Regions from separate parts of the Homo sapiens genome. Here region 1 is linked to region 2. The links are contacts of gene promoters, found by promoter capture Hi-C in blood cells and fetal thymus (Javierre and others, 2016). All regions are on one chromosome and are shown on one strand. The core of a region is centred on a gene start or on the middle of the fragment in contact, and the rest is flanking DNA. Distances in the headings are between cores, read along the strand shown. Region 1 has its middle 19 kb from the start of ZFP90. Region 2 holds the start of SMPD3 (sphingomyelin phosphodiesterase 3).

Evidence for each region. Contacts are between HindIII fragments. The CHiCAGO score rates a contact against its expected background, and 5 or more counts as called.
Region 1: a contact is called between a fragment that was not itself captured here and the fragment with the promoter of SMPD3 in region 2, in 2 of 17 cell types (monocytes and M2 macrophages). The highest score is 6.3, in monocytes.

Annotation. Positions count from the first base shown.
Region 1 is chr16:68,517,322-68,523,352 of GRCh38, forward strand. No RefSeq gene overlaps it. Among named protein-coding and RNA genes, the nearest start is that of ZFP90, 19 kb to the right of the region's middle. RefSeq lists enhancers at 3,554-3,633, 3,654-3,703, 3,744-3,793. The HindIII fragment of the contact is 3,788 bases long and covers 538-4,325 here.
Region 2 is chr16:68,447,077-68,452,397 of GRCh38, forward strand. It overlaps SMPD3 (sphingomyelin phosphodiesterase 3), which reads right to left and starts at 1,432. Exons shown (of 9, transcript NM_018667.4): 1 at 1,277-1,432. LOC124903705 (a long non-coding RNA gene) reads left to right here and starts at 1,764. Exons shown (of 2, transcript XR_007065097.1): 1 at 1,764-1,990; 2 at 2,089-5,069. RefSeq lists a silencer at 1,130-1,649 and an enhancer at 1,750-1,799. The HindIII fragment of the contact is 11,512 bases long and covers 1-5,321 here.

The sequences.
Region 1 (6,031 bases), core at 1,182-3,681, 71 kb after region 2:
GCGCCCAGCAAAATGTGCCTTTCTGATCTCCACCAACTACCTCCAGGGAGAATAATGTTCCCCTGGTTACATTGTGAGAATGGGTAGGCCAGAGAGGAGAAGGGTACCCCAGCCAGCTCTGGGAATGTGGTGGGTCTGGCAGTGTCCCAAGCAGGCACTGAACAATTCCCACATTGGCTACTCTGCTAGATATTTTGTCCCTTTAAGGATTTACTCATTGATCCCACTGAGAGAAGAATTATGAGGCCACTTGCTCAGTGTGACCAAAGGGGCCACAGAAGTGCCAGGTCAGGAGGCGGAATGAAAACCATACCCCAGAAAACAGAAGAGGAGGAGGCTGGGGAGGAAGGCGGTGGGTGGGTTGGGGGCAGGGAGGACCCTGAAGTCAGTTGCCTTGGGGAGAAACCCAGGGTCTGAAGGTAACCCAGACACTCTGTCCCCAGGGGGAGGGGTCTGGATCCCATTCTCCGAGTGGCCTGGGAGGAGACAGACGGTCTGGGAAGGCGAGGCAGTGCCCTAAGAACAGCCACACCAGCAAGCTTATCTCAGATGATTAAATGGCAGCAGATAAATTTAACTAAACGTGAGTAATGGGGACACAAAGGGGAAGTGAAGAGAAATAGAATATTTTAGCAACATAAGGAAATGAGAAGAAAATGACTTTGCAATGAAATGTCAAACTTCTGTGCCTGGAGGAGATGTAATCTGGTCATTGCAGGCCCAGGAGAGCGGGGGAGTCTGTAGTTATTTCAAGCAAATTTTAATTCACTTTAATTTAATAACATATGACCAAATACCTTTGAGAGAGTGGCAGGGGACAGAACTGGAAATCAGAGAGTGCCAGCCCTGTGAACTGAGGTGTTTCTTATTTGTTTTTTGCAAGAAGCTGTACTTATATTAATTCATTCATTAACCCATTCATTCAGGGCATGAATATTAAAGGCTGAGGATTAATAAAATATACAACTCAGCTTCCCCCCGGCTCACAGGAAATCCTGGCCAGCTAGGAAGACCGACAGATGAACAGAAAGTTGCAATGTAGGGGCCAGGTGCGGTGTCTTATATCTGTAATCCCAACACTTTGGGAGGCCAGTGTGACAGGATGACATGAGGCCAGTTAAAGACCAGCCTGGGCAACAAGCAAGATCCCATCTCTATAAAAAATACAAAAATTAACCGGGCATAGTGGGACACGCCTGTTGTCCTAGCTACGTGGGAGGCTGAGGCAGGAGGATTGGTTGAGCCCAGGAATTCAAGGCTGCAGTGAGTTATGATTTCACCACTGCACCACAGCCTGAGTGACAGAGTGAGGCCCTGTCTCAAAAAAAAAAAAAAAAAAGTTGCAATGTAGGGCCACATCCTGGGCCTAATACCTGGTGTTCAGTAGAAGTTTGTGGAATAAATACAGGATTGAAAGGGTGGTTTTGGGAAGGTGCCAGAAAGAGTGAACATCTAGCTGGGTCTTTTTCTTTTTGAGACGGAGCCTCGCTGTGTCGCCCAGGCTGGAGTGCTATGGCGCAATCTTGCTCACTGCAACCTTGGCTCCTGGGTTCAAGCAATTCTCCTGCCTCTGCCTCCCGAGTAGCTGGGATTATGAGCACCCGCCACCACACCTGGCTAATTTTTGTATTTTTGGTAGAGACGGGGTTTCACCATGTTGGCCAGGTTGGTCTCAAACTCCTGACCTCAAGTGATCCACCCGCCTCAGCCTCCCAAAGTGCTGGGATTACAGGCATAAGCCACTGTGCTCAGCCTTCTAGCTGGGTCTTGAAGGATGAATAAACTCACCAGGAAGGCAAGCAAGTCCAGGGCACATCCAGGGACTGCCTGTGACGAGGAGAAAAGGATCACGTGTAACAAGGAGATGCTGGTTACATTTGCTGGGCTGGGGAAGGTTGCCCAGGGAATGGGGACAGGGTGAGAAGAGGAAAAGGGCAAGGAGGGGCCCTGATGAGGAGTGACACTCAGGAAGGTAGACTCTGAAGAGAAGTCCTCCCCCACCCCTCAAGCCATCACTGAGATCTCTACCCCAGGCCAGCGCCTACTCATCCTTCAAGGCTCAAGCATCACTTCCTCCAGGAAGCCTTTCTGCCCAGCTCAGGCTGTGGTCCTCCCCCTTCCATGTGGTGCTCCCAGCACACTGCGCCACCAACCTTGTGACTGCCCACCTCCAGTCCTGTATTGGGTTGGCTTGTCTGTATGCTTGCCTGTCTCCCAACAGAGGCTGTATGCCCAGTTCTGGTGATGCTGCCCCACCCCATGCACTAGTGGCTCCCTGGATTCCGGCCGGGCTGTGCTGCCTATGGGATTCCATCACACAGATGCACGAGGCCTGTAAGGAAAAGTGGATCCCAAAGCCAGAGTCTGAGTCAAGGGTTGCTGGGGGTGGGGTGTGGACAGGGGGTTGGCCGAGGGAAGGGTATTTTACTCCACATCACATAAGATTTTTACACTCATTGCCAGGCACAGTGGCTCACGCCTGTAATCCCAGCACTTTGGGAGGCCGAGGCAGGTGGATCACTTGAGGTCAGGAGTTCAAGATCAGCCTGGCCAATATGGTGAAACTCCAGCTCTACTAAAAATACAAAAATTAGCCAGGCCTGGTGGTGCACCCCTGTAGCCCAGCTACTCTGGAGGCTGAGGCAGGAGAATCACTTGAACCCGGGAGGCGGAAGTTGCAGTGAGCCAAGATAGTGCCACTGCACTCCAGCCTGGGCGACAGAGCGAGACTCTGTCTCAGAAAAAAATAATAATAAATTGCACTCTCTCTTCTTTGTTTTTTTTTGTTTTGAGACAGAGTCTTTCTGTCGCCCAGGTTGGAGTGCAGTGGCATGATCTCGGCTCACTGCAGCCTCCGCCTCCCAGGTTCAAGCGATTCTCCTGCCTCAGCCTTCCAAGTAACTGGTATTACAGCGCCCACCACTACGCCTGGCTAATTTTTGCATTTTTAGTAGAGACGGGGTTTCATCATGTTGGCCAGGCTGGATAATCCACCCACCTCAGCCTCCCAAATAACTGGTATTACAGCGCCCACCACTACGCCCGGCTAATTTTTGTATTTTTAGTAGAGACGGGGTTTCACCATGGTGGCCAGGCTGGATAATCCACCCACCTCGGCCTCCCAAAGTGCTGGGATTACAGGCGTGAGCCACCGCGCCCGGCCAGACTTTTACACTCTCGAGAGGGACTTTGGAAGTGCCGTGGGTGACAGCCCTTCTGAAGTCCCCAGGACCCTGGCTGGAAGGGATGGGTAATTAGAGCTGTTGTGCCTGGGTGACAAAGCCAGAGAAGCCTGGTCCCTGGAGGAGAAACCGAAATGTCTGGAGAGGTGGGGCGGGTGGCCAGGCTCAGGGTAGAGAGAAGCAATACAGAGGCCAGGTAAGAGAGCCGCCCCCTCTCTGGACAGGGCTGCAGGTGAAATACGCCGCCCGAGGTAAAGGAAAGAACTGCAGGTTCCATAAGTGTCCGCTAGGGGGCTACCGAGGATACACCAGCTGGGTCGCCTTGGTAACCGCGGAGCTGCGAATGTGTTGTCCCCACGCGGTGGCGGGGAGGTACCAAGATCGCCCCAGGCGCGGCGTATCAGACGCTGGGGTGGGGGCGGGGGTCTGTGGCCATCAGCCCCAGGCAGGCCGTGAGCCCAGGCCAAGGTCCAGGCAGAGATGAAGGACCCAGCTTACTTTCACCTTCGTGTTTTCTCACCTCTGCTCAGGTCACACCTTCACTGGTTGAACTGGACTTAGCAGTTGTGGTAGGAAAAATTAAAATGGTGTTTTGGATCAGCCAAAACAGCTCCTGCATTGTACAGATGAAATAGCAACCCAGAGAGGGAAAGTCACTTGGAGATCACACAACAGCAGACCTGGAAACAGAGCGAAGAGAAAGTGGAACAGAATGGAAGAAAGCAAAGCAAATGAGCAAAGCCCAGTCAAGCAATGTGTTCACTTTATTATCATCATCATCATTATTATTATTATTATTATTTTGAGACAGGGTCTCACTCTGTCGCCCAGGCTAGAGTGCTGTGGTGCAATCATAGCTCACTGCAGCCTCAAACCTCGAACTACTGGGCTCAAGCCGTCCTTTCACCTTAGCCTTCCTCCTGTAGCTGAGACCACAGGCTCATGCTACCATGCCCAGCTAATTTTTGTATTTTTTGTAGAGACAGGCTCTTGCTTTGTTGCCCAGGCTGGTCTCGAACTCCTGACTTCATGTGATCCTCCGGACTCAGCTTCCCAAAGTGCTGGGATTAAAGGTTCGAGCCACTTCACTCAGCATTCTATTTTTTAAATTACCACTTTTGAATTTAAATAGTTTTAAGCATAAGCTTTTACCTGGTGAATTTAAGAAGACATAATGCTACAATGTAACTTAAGAATCCCTCCAGCAGATGACAGGCATCTTTTCCTTCCTATACCACATTCTTCCTCCTCCAACTAGTGTCTTTCTCTGGGCTTTAGTTTCATCTATACAATGAAGGAGCTGTCTTAGCTCTTCTCAAAAACCATTACTCTTTATAATAAAGCAAAGCCTCTGTGGTCCTACACTTTGGGAGGCCGAGGCGGGTGGATCATGAGGTCAGGAGTTTGAGATCAGCCTGGCCAACATGGTGAAACCCCCATCTCTACTAAAAATACAAAAATTAGCTGGGCGTGGTGGTGGGCACCTGTAATCCCAGCTACTCGGGAGGCTGAGGCAGGAAAATCACTTGAAACCAGAAGGCAGAGGTTGCAGTGAGCCGAGATTGCGCCACTGCACTCCAACCTGGGTGAAAGAGTGAAACTTCATCTCAAAATAAATAAATAAATAAATAAATAAATAAATAAATAAAGCCTTTATGTCATAAGCTTAGCTCAGTTAACTCAGCACACAGTTCGTGGGCACATAAGTGGGTAAGTTCCTCTTACAGACAGAACCTGCTTGGCTGTCAAATATCTCTGTAACTGGGCCCCTGGCAGGCCCAGCCTCAGGACAATCTAGACCAGGTTCTTGGATCCATGTATCTGGTTGTAATGTTGGAGGACATCAGCCATGAACAAAAACTATCTCGGCTATAATATTTGCAAGTTAATTAATTTGCAAGTTTATTTAAAAATTCAGATACAAGGCCAAGTGCCATGGCTCATGCCTGTAATCCCAGCGCTTTGGGAGGCCAAGGTGGGTGGATCACTTGAGTTCAGGAGTTTGAGACCAACCTGGCCGACATGGTGAAACCCCACCTCTACTAAAAATACAAAAATTAGCCAGGTGTGGTGGTGGGCACCTGTAATGCCAGCTACTCGGGAGGCTGAGACAGAGGAATCAATTGAACCTGGGAGGCGGAGGTGGCAGTGAGCTCAGATTGCACCACTGCACTCCAGCCTGGCGACAGAGCAAGACTCCGTCTCAAATAAATAAATAAATTCAGATACAAACATAATTCAATAAATATAGCATGAGAACAATCTTGTTTAATTTTTTATTTTTTATTTTTTTTGGAGACAAGTTCTCACTCTGTGGCCCAGGCTGGAGTGCACTGGTGCGATCTCGGCTCACTGCAACCTCTGCCTCCCGGGTCCAAGTGATTCTTGTGCCTCAGCCTCCCAAGTAACTGGGACTACAGGTGCATACCACGAGGCCCGGTTAATTTTTGTAGTTTTAGTAGAGATAGGGTTTCGCCATGTTGGCCAGGCTGGTCTCAAACTCCTGGGCTCAAGCAATCTGCCCGCCTCAGCCTCCCAAAGTGCTGGGATTACAGGCATGAGCCACTGCACCTGGCCCAAATTTGTTTAATTTCTAGTCCCTCACTCTTTCTCTGCCCTCCTTCTCTATCCTGTCCTTGGCTCATTTTGTCCACTTTCTTTCTTTTTTTTTTTTTTAAGATGGAGTCTTGCTCTGTTGCCCAGGCCTGGAGTGCAGTGGCATGATTTCGAACAGCCACCGGGCCAGGCTATTTTTAAAATATTTTTAGTAGAGTTGGGGTTTTGCCATGTTGGCCAGGCTTGTCTCGAACTCCTGGCCTCAAGCGATCTGCCTGCCTCGGCTTCTCAAA
Region 2 (5,321 bases), core at 182-2,681:
CGAAGCCCCCCCTCCGCGGCCGCGCCCCCCGCCCAGCCCGCGGCGCAGGCCTGCCAGTGCGGCGACCGCCGCTTTGTCCTCTCGAGGATGCCTGGGCCGAGCGCGAAAGCCCCATGCCTTGGAACAGCCACCGCGCGTCCTGGAAGCAGGTCCCCGAGCCTCGGTTTGGGGTGCGCCCTGCATCGGAGCGGAGCAGCCCCCAAAGATTCGCGGGCACGAGGTTGGGGGTAGCGTCTACCTGGAGCTCTTGAGTGCTTGAGGGGAGACCCGCCCCGTCCCGCTCTGTACATGCCCATCTGGGATTGGCCCCCAGCTGCGGTGCCAGAGGCTCGGTCCCCGGGGCGTGGTGGGCTAGGGCGGGTCGTCTCGACTTAGAGCCCCAGGCCTGGATCCAGGTAGGGAGGGCCTGGGAGATAAGGCCCAGGTGGGGAGAGGTGGGGAGGGGTCCCTCCTGTCCTCGTACATCCCCCTACACTACCTCTCACACCCAGGCCACCCAACCCTCGGCGCGGGCCCGAGCGCGGGGGATTCCGAGTGTCAGTGCTTTCCTCCACCCGCGACTCCGAGAAGGATGGGGAGGGGTCTCCCAGCGTTTCCCTGCCACATTCCAATTCCACCCTTCACCAGTAACCTAGGAGGGTCCAAGTGGGAGGGGTAAGAGTCCTCTGTCTCTTCCACATCCTCGATCCTCCTCTTTACAAAACCCTAGGGCCAAGGGAGGAGGGGGGAATAGGGAGGGGGGCGAGTGTGGAGGAAGGGGCCTGGGCAAGGGTCTTCCCTGCATCCCAAGCAGCCCTTCCTGAATACCCCTGGGAGGGTCTGGGCTAGGGGAGCGGTCCGCGATCTCATCCATCACCACCAGACTCCTTTGTAACCTCGAGCAGCCGAAGTGTTGCGGGGAGGGGTCCCCCTGCCTCGAGTCCCTTCATCCCACAACACCTCATCCTCCCGTCCTGAGTAATCCGAGCAGCCCCGTCGCCAGGCACAGCGGGAGGGAGGGTCCAAGCCTCCTCGCTCTCCCAGGAGAGATGGGGGGTGGGGGTGACCCCCAGCCCTCGCCCCTCATACCCAAGAGCCTTCTCCATGATAAAACGAAAACTAACCCAAGCTGCTCCGACCTCCGGCGCCCGGCCACGGGAGGCCCCTAGTCAGTCGGCGGCTGTCCGGGACCCGCGGTCCTGAGAGCAACGAGAACACGTCCCGTCAACTCCCCAGCCCCTCACGCCTCGGTTCGCCCGCTCCCCAAGAAAACAAAAGCGAATTCAGCAGCACTGACCTCTGACGGCGGGCGGGAGGGCGGTCAGCGCCCGGCAGCGCACCCCGCTCCTCCCGGCTCCTCACAGCCCGGGCTCCCGGCCGCAGATCTGGCGGCGGCCGCAGCGGCGGCGGCTCTCGCGGCTCTCGGGTCCGGAGCCTCCCTCAGACTCAGCACCTGGAGCGGCGAACAGCTCCGCGCTTCATTCCTCTGACCCCGCCTCCCTCGCGCCGCCGGAGCCAATGGTGACCCGGACCCCGCCCAGGAGTCTGCCCATTGGGGGCGTCCTCCCCTCTCCCTCCGGCCCCGCCCGCAGGTTCCTGGGTCTCTCCTTCAAGACCACATCCCCCAGAGACCGGCGGAGTTTCGCACAGCCTTCTGGGACTTATAGTTCTTTAAGGACGCGGAGTGGGCTCACGCCGCGGGTAGGCAAACAGAGCGGGACTGCATTTCCCAGAGTGCACTGAAGACACGGAGGCGCGGAGCAGGGCGGGAGGACCGTTTCCATAGCAAAGACGACCAGCCGAGGATGGCTGGCGGAGGCGTGGGGCAGGCCGCAGGACCCTCGAAGGATCGTGTGAGACCCCGGGCAGCCTCTTGGGAGGCCATTTCGAGGAGAAAACCTTGATTTCTGCCTCAGGACCCTGGGCCTCAGTTTTCCTATCTGAGAAGAAGGGCGAAGAGCTGTGCCCCCGACCACACCCGTCGGTGATGGGGCAAACCGAGGGCAAGCAGGTTTGGTTCCTGCCCAGCAAAGGTGAGGGAGGACGGAGGAGACTCTCCCACCGCATTCAGAACTTTATTCCTTTATTTTTGTCTCAATCTTGTCATAGAGGAGCGCTTCACTTTTGGTCATCCCTTGGGCCACCAGGGCCTTCCCGTCTCCGTCTTCCCATCGCAGGTCCTGGCCTCCTTCACACCACTCCAGGATACCGCAGCATCTCCCCCAGCGCAGCAGACGGAGGGCGCTTCACATGCCCCCGGACCTAAGCCCACTCTCCCCTTCAAGATCTGGACTCCACTTTTTTGCAACACTCTTAACTTCTTTGGAAGCTGGGAAGCCTCCTACTCCCTTGGGCCTCTCCACCCTGCCCTCAGCTAACTCGTCGGCAAGCCCCAGCCTAGACATTGCCTGTTTTGTGAAGACATCTAGATGCTGGGCTGTCTGTTGAGTGCCCCACCCTGTGTTTGAGCAGCACCCTCTACTTCCCCTGTTCTACTTGCATGTTTATGTGCTCGTCTTCCTCATTATAAGATCCACAGGGGAGGGGCCATGTCTATATTATTCATACTTACAGTCCAGTGTCTAGTATCTGGCACGTAGTAGGCACTCACTAGCTATTGAGATATAAATATAGATATTTGTTGAATTGAAAATGAATTGGGCCGGGCGTGGTGGCTCACGCCTGTAATCCCAGAACTTTGGGAGGCCGAGGCAGGTGGATCACTAGGTCAGGAGTTCGAGACAAGTCTGACCAAAATGGTGAAACCCAGTCTCTACTAAAAATACAAAAATTAGCTGGGCGTGGTGGCACGTGCCTGTAATCCCAGCTATTCAGGAGGCTGAGGCGGGAGAATCGCTTGAACCCCGGGAGGTGGAGGTTGCAGTGAGTCGAGATTGCACCACTACACTCCAGCCTGGACAACAGAGTGAGACCCTGTCTCAAAAAAAAAAAAAAAAAAAGAGAAAAAGAATAAAATTAAAAAAAAGAAAATAAAGGAACCTCATTCACATACACCTCCAAAACTCTGATTTCCTAAAGTTGGGCATTTCTCATTGCTGGAGGTGTTCAGTTAGAGGCATGCCGCCCCCTTGAAGAAATGTTTATTTCATTTGTACAGTGGGTTGGGATTTTACCTGAATGCTTTGAGTACCCTTTTAATCCTATGATGCTAGAGATTGATAGACCCATGCCTATTATTCCTGTCAGTTCTCCCTGAAATGTCATCAGTTCTTCATGTTCCGCTATTTCTAGCTGTTGGCCCTACTCGTTTCTGTGCCTAAATGCCCTACCTCCCACTCCTTTTCTGAGAAAGATCTTCTGCCCTGTCAGTTATGAAGTAAAGATGTCCTAAGATTCCTGCTCTTTCTTTTTTCTTTCTTTCTTTCTCTCTCTTTTTTTTTTTTTTCGACGGAGTTTCGCTCTTGTTGCCTGGAGTGCAATGGCTGGAGTGCAATGGCGCGATCTCAGCTCACTGCAGCCTCTGCCACCTAGGCCCACCTTGGTCTCCCCAAGTGCTGGCATTACAGGTGTGAGCCACTGTGCCCGGCCTCCTGCTCTTCTTTCAACCCTCTGCTCAGCATCTTAGGCCTCATTGGTGATGTCCCACCTTGCTAGGTAGCATCTTTCCTGAATATTTCTCCACTAAACATTCTGATGTTGGCTAGATGGCCTAGTTAATCTACACATTTCATTTTATCACCTTCTCCAGATGTTTTTTTGTGTATGTCAGCTGATACACTCTGGGGAGAATGCCTTAATATATGGGAATAATTAACTCATGGCCAAGAAGGAAATAACCAAGGGGACTTTTACTCTGGACCTAATTCAAACCAAAGAGACAGAGCCTGAGAGAAAGCAGCTCTGTCATCCTTGAGTTAGTAACATCCAGGAAGGGAAGGCTAGGGTGGGGGAGTGAGTAAAACAGATGGCATTTAGGGAAGAACCAACAGGACTTTAAGAGGCATGGCAGAGGGGCTTTGATCCTGGCTAAACCATCAGGGAAGGCAATTGGAGCTGGGTGAACAGATGGGGTCTTATTACTGAAGAGAAAACGGTAAGGAGGCAGGGGGAAATGGGACGTGTGCTAAAGCAGAGTGCCTCATTCAGTGGATGCAGTGAGAGCAGAGGCTGTTGGAAAAGTGGATCAGGGAGGACCATGCCACCAGGTGGGCATCAGCAGAGTATCACCCGAGTATTGCAGAGGGATACCAAATAAGTCCACCTGAAGCCAGAGCTGAAACCCTGTGGAGGTCCGTTTACCCCTTCAGAAGTAGTGTACCACCATCCATCTACCACTGGAATCCAATTTCAGTTTTGGCAAATTGTTATAAATAGGAAAAAGTCAGGGTTCCACAATTCTGGCAGCACCCAGAGACTATAACAGCATCTGCACAGCCAAGTAGAGTTAGGAAACCTGGATCCTAATCCTGACTTTGCCTCTGATTAGATGTGTGATCCTGGGCTGGAGCTGTTTTTTCAGTTGTAAAATGCTGTTTATTGGTGTTAGGTAGCAGCTAATAAGGCTGGAGGTGGGGCTGGGTGTAGTGGCTCACACATGTAATCTCAGCAGTTTGACAGGCCAAGGCAGGAGGATTGCTGGAGGCCAGGGATTTGAGACCAGCTTGGGCTACATAGTGAGACTCTGCCTGTACTAAAAATTAAAAAAAAAAAAAATAACTCAGTGCAGTGGCGCATGCCTGTAGTCCCAGCTACTCAGGAGGTTGGGGTGGGAGGGTTGCTTGAGCCCAGGAGTTTGAGGCTGCAGTGAACTATGATCAATCACACCACTGCATTCTAGTAGCCTGAGTGACAGAGCAAGACCTGTCTCTAAAAAAAAAGAAATTTTTTTTAAGGGTGGAGGTAGGGAAATTCAAAGCTACTTACTAGCTGTGTGACCTTGCCTAAACTACCTCCTTGGATTTGCAGTCTGTTTATTTGAAAATGTCATAAGGGATAAATGAGATTCCTTATGTAAAGTACTTTATAAATATTAAGCACTTACCAAATGTTAGTCTGTTTTCACATTATTCTTCTTGGATTACCAGAAATTGGTTTGACCATGAATAAACAGGAGATAATTTCTTGGGTAATCTGAGTTTGAATCCCCTTTCTCTCTCTTACTAATTGTATGACTTTGATTAGGTTATTTAATATTTAATTGTTCTGGGTCTCAGTTTTCTCATTTGTGAAATTAAAATGTGTTCTTCAGAATTGTGAGGGTTAAATGTGATAAAAGGCCTGACTCATATGAGAAAATGCTCAATATATTTGTTTTGTCATTTTTAAGGGGTGGTTTTAGGGCACAGAACCCTAAAGGAATGAATGGAATTCTAAATACTTCG